Regions from separate parts of the Homo sapiens genome. Here all the other regions are linked to region 3. Evidence: promoter capture Hi-C in human tissues and cell types (Jung and others, 2019). All regions are on one chromosome and are shown on one strand. Each heading gives the region's core, a stretch centred on a gene start or on the middle of the fragment in contact. The rest is flanking DNA. Distances are from core to core; before and after follow the strand shown.

Evidence for each region. Contacts are between HindIII fragments. The study calls those that stand out against the background at their distance.
Region 1: a contact is called between a fragment that was not itself captured here and the fragment with the promoter of CYP11B2 in region 3, in 5 of the 25 tissues and cell types used here (dorsolateral prefrontal cortex, lymphoblastoid cells, mesendoderm cells and 2 more).
Region 2: a fragment that was not itself captured here is called in contact with the fragment with the promoter of CYP11B2 in region 3 in 1 of the 25 tissues and cell types used here (IMR-90 fibroblasts).

Annotation. Positions count from the first base shown.
Region 1 is chr8:142,963,102-142,965,954 of GRCh38, reverse strand. No RefSeq gene overlaps it. Among named protein-coding and RNA genes, the nearest start is that of CYP11B2, 47 kb to the right of the region's middle. The HindIII fragment of the contact is 3,160 bases long and covers 1-2,853 here.
Region 2 is chr8:142,861,157-142,864,281 of GRCh38, reverse strand. No RefSeq gene overlaps it. Among named protein-coding and RNA genes, the nearest start is that of CYP11B1, 17 kb to the left of the region's middle. The HindIII fragment of the contact is 3,293 bases long and covers 36-3,125 here.
Region 3 is chr8:142,916,160-142,919,204 of GRCh38, reverse strand. It overlaps CYP11B2 (cytochrome P450 family 11 subfamily B member 2), which reads left to right and starts at 1,362. Exons shown (of 9, transcript NM_000498.3): 1 at 1,362-1,603; 2 at 1,991-2,146. The coding sequence starts at 1,365. RefSeq lists an enhancer at 75-356 and a promoter at 1-1,363. The HindIII fragment of the contact is 14,293 bases long and covers 1-3,045 here.

The DNA of each region.
Region 1 (2,853 bases), core at 186-2,685, 47 kb before region 3:
TCTTTTCAAACGGTATGGGGTAACTTCCTGACATTGCCATGGCATTTATAAACTGTTATGGCGCTGATGGGAGTGTAGCAGTGAGGATGACCAGAGGTCACTCTCATGGTCATTTTGGTTTTGGTGGGTTTTGGCTGGCTCCTTTACTGCAAACTGTTTTATCAGCAAAGTCTTTGTGACCTGTATTTTGTGCTGACCTCCTATCTCATCCTGTGACTTAGTATGCCTTAAACATCTGGGAATGCAGCCCAGTAGGTTTTAGCCTCATTTGACCCAGTTCCTGTTTAAGATGGAGTTGCTCTGGTTCACATGCCTCTGATATTTCCCCCCTTCCTTTTATAAGAGAACACTTATTCCTAAAGGTTGCAGAGGGATGGAGATCCATCTTCTGTAACTTCTTCAGGCTGAATAGGGGTGATGATATTCCTCTCTAACTATGAGGGTCTCTTGCAATCAGGGTAGAGAGGAGCTCAGTCAGAAAGCATCAGTGTGGTAAGTCCATTAATAAGTCTTGAGTTTTGACGAAAGGTGATATCTGGAAGATTAATATGTGTTTAATTTAAGAAAACATTCAGTAAGCTTGTCCTGTATTTCTATACAAAGAGTATAACAGCAATATATTCCCCAAGAGTAAAGCAAAATAAGTAAAGTTATTCCAAGTAAACATAATTAGAAGGCTTTTCATGAACTGGGCAACTGTTGGAACTAAGCTGGTATGGGGTTGTTAGCTGATTGTCATGTGCCCAGAATTAGAATACCAATTCAGAGTTTTACATTGCCCATCCCTCTTTGTTGTGGGAAGTCAGGGACCCAAAATGGAGGGACTGGCTGAAGCCATGGCAGAAGAACGTGGATTGTGAAGATTTCATGGACATTTATTAGTTTTTATAAAACTAATACTTTTATAATTTCTTATGCCTGCCTTTACTGCAATCTCTAAACATAAATTGTAAAGATTTCATGGACACTTATCACTTCCCCAATCAATACCCTAGTGATTTCCTATGCCTGTCTTTGCTTTAATCTTTTAATCCTGTCAGCTGAGGAGGATGTATGTCGCCTCAGGACCCTGTAATAATTGCATTAACTGCACAAATTGTACAGCGTGTGTGTTTGAGCAATATGAAATGTGGGCACCTTGAAAAAAGAACAGGATAACAACAATTGTTCAGGGAATAAGAGAGATAACCCTAAACTCTGACTGCCAGTGAGCTGGGCAGAATAGAGCCATATTTCTCTTCTTTCAAAAGCAAATGGGAGGAATATCACTGAATTCTTTTTCTCAGCAAGGAACATCCCTGAGAAAAAGAATATGCACCTGGAGGTATAGGCCTATGAACGGCGCCCCCCCCCACCCCCAGGTGTGCCTGTCTCTTATGGTTGAAACTGCAGAGATGAAATAGACTCCAGTCTCCCATAGCACTCCCAGGCTTATTTGGAAGAGGAAATTCCCACCTAATAATTTTGGTCAGACCGGTTGCTCTCAAAACCCTGTCTCCTGATAAGATGTTATCAATGACAGTGGTGCCTGAAACTTCATTAGCAATTTTAATTTTGCCTCGGTCCTGTGGTCCTGTGATCTCGCCCTGCCTCCATTTGCCTTGTGATATTCTATTACTGTGTAAAGTACTTGATGTCTGTGACCCACACCTATTCGCGCACTCCCTCCCCTTTTGAAAATCCCTAATAAAAACTTGCTGGTTTTTGCGGCTTGTGGGGCATCACGGAACCTACCGATATGTGATGTCTCCCCCGGACGCCCAGCTTTAAAATTTCTCTCTTTTGTACTCTGTCCCTTTATTTCTCAAGCCGGCTGATGCTTAGGGAAAATAGAAAAGAACCTACGTGAATATTGGGGCAGGTTCCCCAATACCTCTTGTTTCTTCTGAGCAACAGTCAGAGATCACTGGTTGATTCACAGGAATAAGCAGGGTTAGCCTAAATTGCAGAAACAAACTTAAAAACAACAGATAAGACTAGAATTTAACAACAAGTGCACCATAGTTCTTGAAACATAATATTTCTCTCTCCAGTTTTCCATTTTTACTAAAGACAAATTATGGTAAGACTGATTTGCTTTATTATATTTGGCCTGATTATTTGTATAAAGTGCAGCAAGAATAATTATTTTTCACATAAGCTGTTTTTAAATTGGCTTTGATGGAACTCTGTTTCATAAGGAATCTCAGATAAGACTTTTTTAAAGCTGAGCCCAGCCATGGGTTTGTACCTTTGTATATCTATGAGTTAGGTAAATTTTTTTTCCTCTTGATGTCCCAAGATAACCTGGGGCTCCTGGACCTGTCAGAAAGTGACATTCTTTACTCACCACAGGTTAGAAACCCTGCACAGGGACTGTTTTGGAAAGGTATAAGGTCAGTTCCCTAAAGAGATTTTATTGGCTCTATAAGTCAAGTTTAATTCCCTAAAGGAAAACACACTATTCCAGGCAAAGCCTTGACAAAAATCACCAATTTCTCCCATTGTGTCCTGTTACAAAAGAAAACAGTTTCTTATTGCAAATATAGTTATGCAAATAACTATATTGCCATAAGTTAAGAATACTCACAACTAGTTTACAAATTCTGGAGAAATTAGGTAGAGAGAAACAAATATGCTCCACATTTTGTTTATAGGTGGATACATACTTAACTGTTAAAAGCTGTAAACAGCTCAAAAGAAAAGTTTCCTTGACTTTGAAAAACAAAACAAAGGATCAGCAATGTTTTAAGCAAAGTTTAAAAGATTACTTCCGTTTTTTTATTGGTTTAGTGAATTTAGTTAACTCCTGTTTTGCTTGATATTTATGAACATTTTAGCTCTCCATGAGAGTCCTGCAAGTTTTTCCTCTAT
Region 2 (3,125 bases), core at 433-2,932, 55 kb after region 3:
AGACATCCAGATATAAAAAATTCAGAGAACACCTGTGAGATATTATACAAGACAAACATCACCAAGGCATATAGTCATCAGACTATCCAATGTCAATGCCAGAAAAAAAATCGTAAGGGCAGCTAGAAAGGTGGGTCAAATCACCTGTAAAGGAAAATCCATCAGAGTAACAGCAGAATTCTCAGCAGAGACCCTACAAGCCAGAAGAGATTGGGGGCCTGTTTTTAGCTGCCTTAATGAAAAAAAAAAGCCAGCCAAGAATTGTATAATCCTGGCTAGCTAAGCTTCATAAATGAAGGAGAAATGAGGTCTTTTCCAGACAAGCAAATGCTAAGGTAATTTGTCACCACTAGACTACAATAAATACTCAAAGGAGTTCTAAACATGGAGACAGAAGGACAATACTTGCCATCATAGAAGGACACATGAGTGCAAAGTTTACAGATCCTATAGAGCAATTACACAATTTAAACTCCAACACAACTACCTAACAACACTATGATAGGAACAAAACCTCACATACCAATATTAACCTTGAATGTAAATGGCCTAAGTGCTCCACTTAAAAGATAAAGAGTGGCAAATTGGATGAAAAAAATAAGACCCAATCATTTGCTGCCTACAAGAGACCCACCTACTGGCTAAAGACACCTTCACACTCAAAGTTAAAAGGTAGAGAAAGATATGTCATGCAAATGAAAAGCAAAAGCAAGTGGGAATAGCCATTCTCATATCAGATAAAACAAACTTTAAACCAAAAACAGTTAAAAAAAAAAGTCAAAGAAGGGTATTATGTAAGACAAAGGGTTGAATACAACAAGAAGATTTAACTCTTCTAAATATATATGTACCCAACACCAGATCACCCAGATTCATGCAAGAAATACTAGTAGACCTAAGAAAACAGGTTGATAGCAATGCAATAATAGTGGGGACTTCAACACCTCATTGACACCACTGGACAGATCATTGAGGCAGAAAATCAAGAAACACTGGACTTGAATTGGACTATAGACTAAATGAACCTAATAGATATTAGCAGAACATTCTACCCAATAACCACAGAATATACATTCTCGTCTATGCATGGAATATTCTCCAAAATCGACCACATGCTTGGCCATGAAGCAAGTCTCAACATTAAAAAAATCGTATCAAGTATCCTCAGAACACAGTGGAATAAAATTAGAAATCAATATCCAGAGGAACTCTCAAAACTACATAAGTACATGGAAACTAAACAACTTGTTCAAGAATGATTCTTGGGTAAACAATAAAATTAAGAAATAAAACAATTCTTTGAAACAAATGAAAGTAGAGATAAAACACATCAAAACCTCTGTGGTACAGCAAAAACAGAGCTATGATGAAACTTTATAGAATTAAACACCTACATTGAAAAGAAAGAAAGATCTCGAATTAGCATTCTAACATCACACCTCAAGGAACTAGAACAAGAGAGTCTGAGTGTGAGAACACTTCTAAGGGGCTGCCCAGGCACACTGGGTGCAGGATCTACCTAGCTCTTTTCTGCAGCTCTCCCAGCTGCTTGCCCAAACCGAAATCTAGCAGAAGAGAAGAAATAACAAGAATCAGAGCAGAATTAAGTGAGACTGAGACCAAACAGGATGACAGACAGGATCAGTGAAATGAAAAGTTGGTTCTTTGAAATGATAAACAAAATTAATGACCACTAGCTAGACTAACCAAGAAAAAAAGAAGATTCAAATAAGCATAATCAGAAATGATAAAGCTGACATTACCATTGATACCACATAAAAACCAAAAGATCATCAGAGAGTACTTTGAATACCTCTATGCACACAAACTAGAAAATGTAGAGGAAATGGATAAATTCCTAGAAACATACAACCTCCCAAGATTAAACCAGAAAGAAATAGAACTACTGAACAGACCAATAAGGAGTAATAAAATTGAACTCATATTAAAAAAATCTTCCAACAACAACAAAAAAGCCCAGCACCAGGCATATTCACAGCGAAATATTACCAGATGTACAAAGAAGAGCTAGGACCAAAGTTACTGAAACTATTCCAAACAATCTAGAAGGAGAGATTTTATGGAATGCTTTTTCTGCATCTGTTGAGATGATCACATGGTTTTCATTCTTAGTTCTGTTTACGTGGTGAGTCACATTTATTGATTTGTGTGTGTTGAGCCATTCTTCCATCCCTGGAATAAAGTCCACTTAATTGTGATGAATTGTCTTTTTGATGCACTGTTGAATTTTGGTGTCATAGAATGAGTTAGGGAGGAATCAGGCAAGCACGCAACAAAGAAAACTACAGGCCAATATCACTCAACGCAGAAGCCAAAATCCTCAACAAAATACTAGCAAACTGAATCCAACAGCACATCAAAAAGATAATTCATCCCTCTATTCCAGGGATGCAATGATGGCTCAACATATGCAAATCAATCAATGTGATTCACCACATAAACAGAACTAAGAACACAAAACATATGATTATCTCAATACATGCAGAAAAAATCATTTGTTAAAAGCCAATATCCCTTCATGATAAAAACTGTCAACAAACTAGGCATTTAAAAATACCTCAAAATAATAACAGCCATATATGACAAACCCACAGCCACTGAACGGGGAATATATATGATGAATCCACAGCCACTAGACATCATACTGAATGGGGAAAGGTTGAAAGCATTTCCCTTAAGAATTGGAACGAGGATGTCCATTCCTTGTTCCACTTCTTGGAATGGATGTCCATTCCTTGTTCCACCACTCCTATTCAACATAATACTGAAAGTCCTAGCCAGAACAATCAGGCAAGAGAAAGAAAGAAAAAAGAAAACAGGAAGTCAAATTATCTCTGTTCACCAATTACACAGTCACATACCTAGAAAGCCCTAAAGACTCCTCCAAAAGACTCCCAACTTGATAAACAACTTCTGTAAAGTTTCAAGATACAAAATCAACATACAAAAATCAGTAGCATTTTTATACACTAATAACATTTAAGCTGGGAACCAATTCAAGAACTCAGTCCCGTTTACAATAGACCACACACACACACAACCTAGGAATACATTTAACCAAGGAGGTGAAAGATTTCTACAAGGAGAACTACAGAACACTAATG
Region 3 (3,045 bases), core at 113-2,612:
ATGTGAAATGAAGGACAGCAATGATGCAAGGGATGGGTGAGTGGAATTAAAAATATCTTATTATTTATTTATTTTGAGATGGAGTCTTGCTTTGCTGCCCAGGTTGGAGTGCAGTGGGATGATCTCAACTCACTGCAACCTCCGCCTCCTTGATTCAAGCATTCATCTTGACTCAGCCTGCTGAGAAGCCGAGATTACAGGCATGCGCCACCACACCTGGCTAATTTTGTATTTTTAGTAGAGACAGGGTTTTGCCATGTTGGCCAGGCTGGTCTCGAACTCCTGACCTCAGGTGATCCACCTGCATCAGCCTCCCAAAGTGCTGGGATGACAGACATGAGCCACTATGCCCAGCCTAAGAATATCTGATGATTATAAAGTGCTTGCATTACCTCTGAAGCTGTATAGTGTTATATGAAGGTGGAGTTGGAGAGATGAGTTTTAAGCGTATATTGCAAACTCTAGGGCAACCACTAAAGAAGTGAGACCCAGCCTCTAGAAAAAAAAAAAAAAAAGGAAATTAGCTATCAAGCCACGAAAAGAAATGGAGGAACCTTAAACGCATATTACTAACTGAGATACGTCACTTTGAAAAGGCTACAAACGGTGTCATTCCAACTATACAACATTTTGGAAAAGGCCAAAGCATGGTGATGATAAAAAGATCGGAGATGTCAGGGACTGGGGCAGGAGGGATGAGCAGGCAGAGCACAGGTTTTCTTTTCCTCTTTTTAAGACAGTGAAAATACTCCTAGGATCCTGCAAGGAGGGATACAAATTACATACATTTGTCAAAACCCACAGCATGTTGACCACCAGGAGGAGACCCCATGTGACTCCAGGACCCTGGTTGATAACAACGTATCGAGATTCCTCACATGGAACCAGTGCGCTCCTGTGGTGGAGGGTGTACCTGTGTCAGGGCAGGGGGTACGTGGACATTTTCTGCAGTTTTTGATCAATTTTGCAATGAACTAAATCTGTGGTATAAAAATAAAGTCTATTAAAAGAATCCAAGGCTCCCTCTCATCTCACGATAAGATAAAGTCCCCATCCATTTTACTCCTCTCAGCCCTGGAGAAAGGAGAGGCCAGGTCCCACCACCTTCCACCAGCATGGACCCCCAGTCCAGACCCCACGCCTTTTCTCAGCATCCTCAGACCAGCAGGACTTGCAGCAATGGGGAATTAGGCACCTGACTTCTCCTTCATCTACCTTTGGCTGGGGGCCTCCAGCCTTGACCTTCGCTCTGAGAGTCTCAGGCAGGTCCAGAGCCAGTTCTCCCATGACGTGATATGTTTCCAGAGCAGGTTCCTGGGTGAGATAAAAGGATTTGGGCTGAACAGGGTGGAGGGAGCATTGGAATGGCACTCAGGGCAAAGGCAGAGGTGTGCGTGGCAGCGCCCTGGCTGTCCCTGCAAAGGGCACGGGCACTGGGCACTAGAGCCGCTCGGGCCCCTAGGACGGTGCTGCCGTTTGAAGCCATGCCCCAGCATCCAGGCAACAGGTGGCTGAGGCTGCTGCAGATCTGGAGGGAGCAGGGTTATGAGCACCTGCACCTGGAGATGCACCAGACCTTCCAGGAGCTGGGGCCCATTTTCAGGTAAAGCCCTCCCTGGCCCTCGCTGGGAACACCCAGATCCCTGCCCCTGCTGCCCAGGACCCTGCCAGGCACTCAGCACTGCCATTCCCAGCAGGTCCCGGCACTCTGCATCCTTTGGAGGATGGGGAAGGAGTGCAGCACATGCTGGTCTGTGGTGCTGCCAGGGCAGGGGATAGTGCAGAGAAAACCCCAGCTCACTGCAGAGAGGGCAGGACTCAGAAGCACTAAAGTTGAAAGGTTCCAGGGAGCCAGCAGGAGGGCTTTAGCTGTGAAGCCGCTAATCCAGGAGCAGGGAGGGTGGACAGGAGACACTTTGGATTGGGACTGCAGGGTGGGGCCACGAGGGACATGACCCCGTCCAGCAGGGCCTCCTGCTTGGCCCCACAGGTACAACTTGGGAGGACCACGCATGGTGTGTGTGATGCTGCCGGAGGATGTGGAGAAGCTGCAACAGGTGGACAGCCTGCATCCCTGCAGGATGATCCTGGAGCCCTGGGTGGCCTACAGACAACATCGTGGGCACAAATGTGGCGTGTTCTTGTTGTAAGCGGCGAGTTGGGAGCTGAGAGCTGGGAGCAGGGTGGGCAGCCTGGGTGTAGGGGGGAGGCGAGAGAGGTAGGACCCAAAAGCACATCTGCCCTGGGCCCCTGTGGTGGGCAGTGAGGGTGAGCACCCGGCCCAGAGGACGGCCATCCTGTGGGGTCGCGTCTGCACTGTGGGTTGGGGAAGCAGGGCGGTGGTGGAGAAATGGGCACGGGCACCTCTGCAGAGAAGACGCAGAGCAATGAGCCCTTCTGTGTAGTGAGAACCCGCTCTGCACCAACCTCGGCGGCTGCTTTCTCTTGCGGTCTGGGGACTGTCCTTCCCATAGGTCAGAAAACTGAGGCCCTGAGAAGGGGACTTCCACTGGCCCAGGTCACAGGCTGAGTGCTGAGCCTGGTGTTCGCCGGGGCCACAGCCTCCCTCAGGGCGCTCAGGGTCCCTGCAGTCCTGGCAAACCTTCCTGATGGGGACAGTCCGGGGCAGGAGGCAGGTGGGGACGCAGGTGGCTGGTGGTTCCGTTGTTCTCAGAAGCAAGGCACAAGGTGGGGCGGTTGATGGCACTGGGGAGGATGTTTCCTGGCCCGTGGAGAGGGTGGCGCCTGGTCAGGTGGGCAGGGAGAGGCTGATGCTTGGAGTCGGTCACCTGCAGGGATGTTGTCATTAGGACGGGGGAAGGACTGGATGAGGATGTCACAGTGGTGACAGCCCCCACTCCATGGTAGGAAGGGAACGCTATTGGGAATAGTGGGGTTTAGGTAAAAGGGCACCCGTGGGTCGGGGCCTTCACTGAGGCTGGCCTATAGATGACATCTGGGAGAGAGTCAGGACCCAGGAAGGCAGGTCCAGGAGGCTGGGTGCGCATAATGGAAGGAAGGGGAGCGCTCCTGTATGTGTGTGTG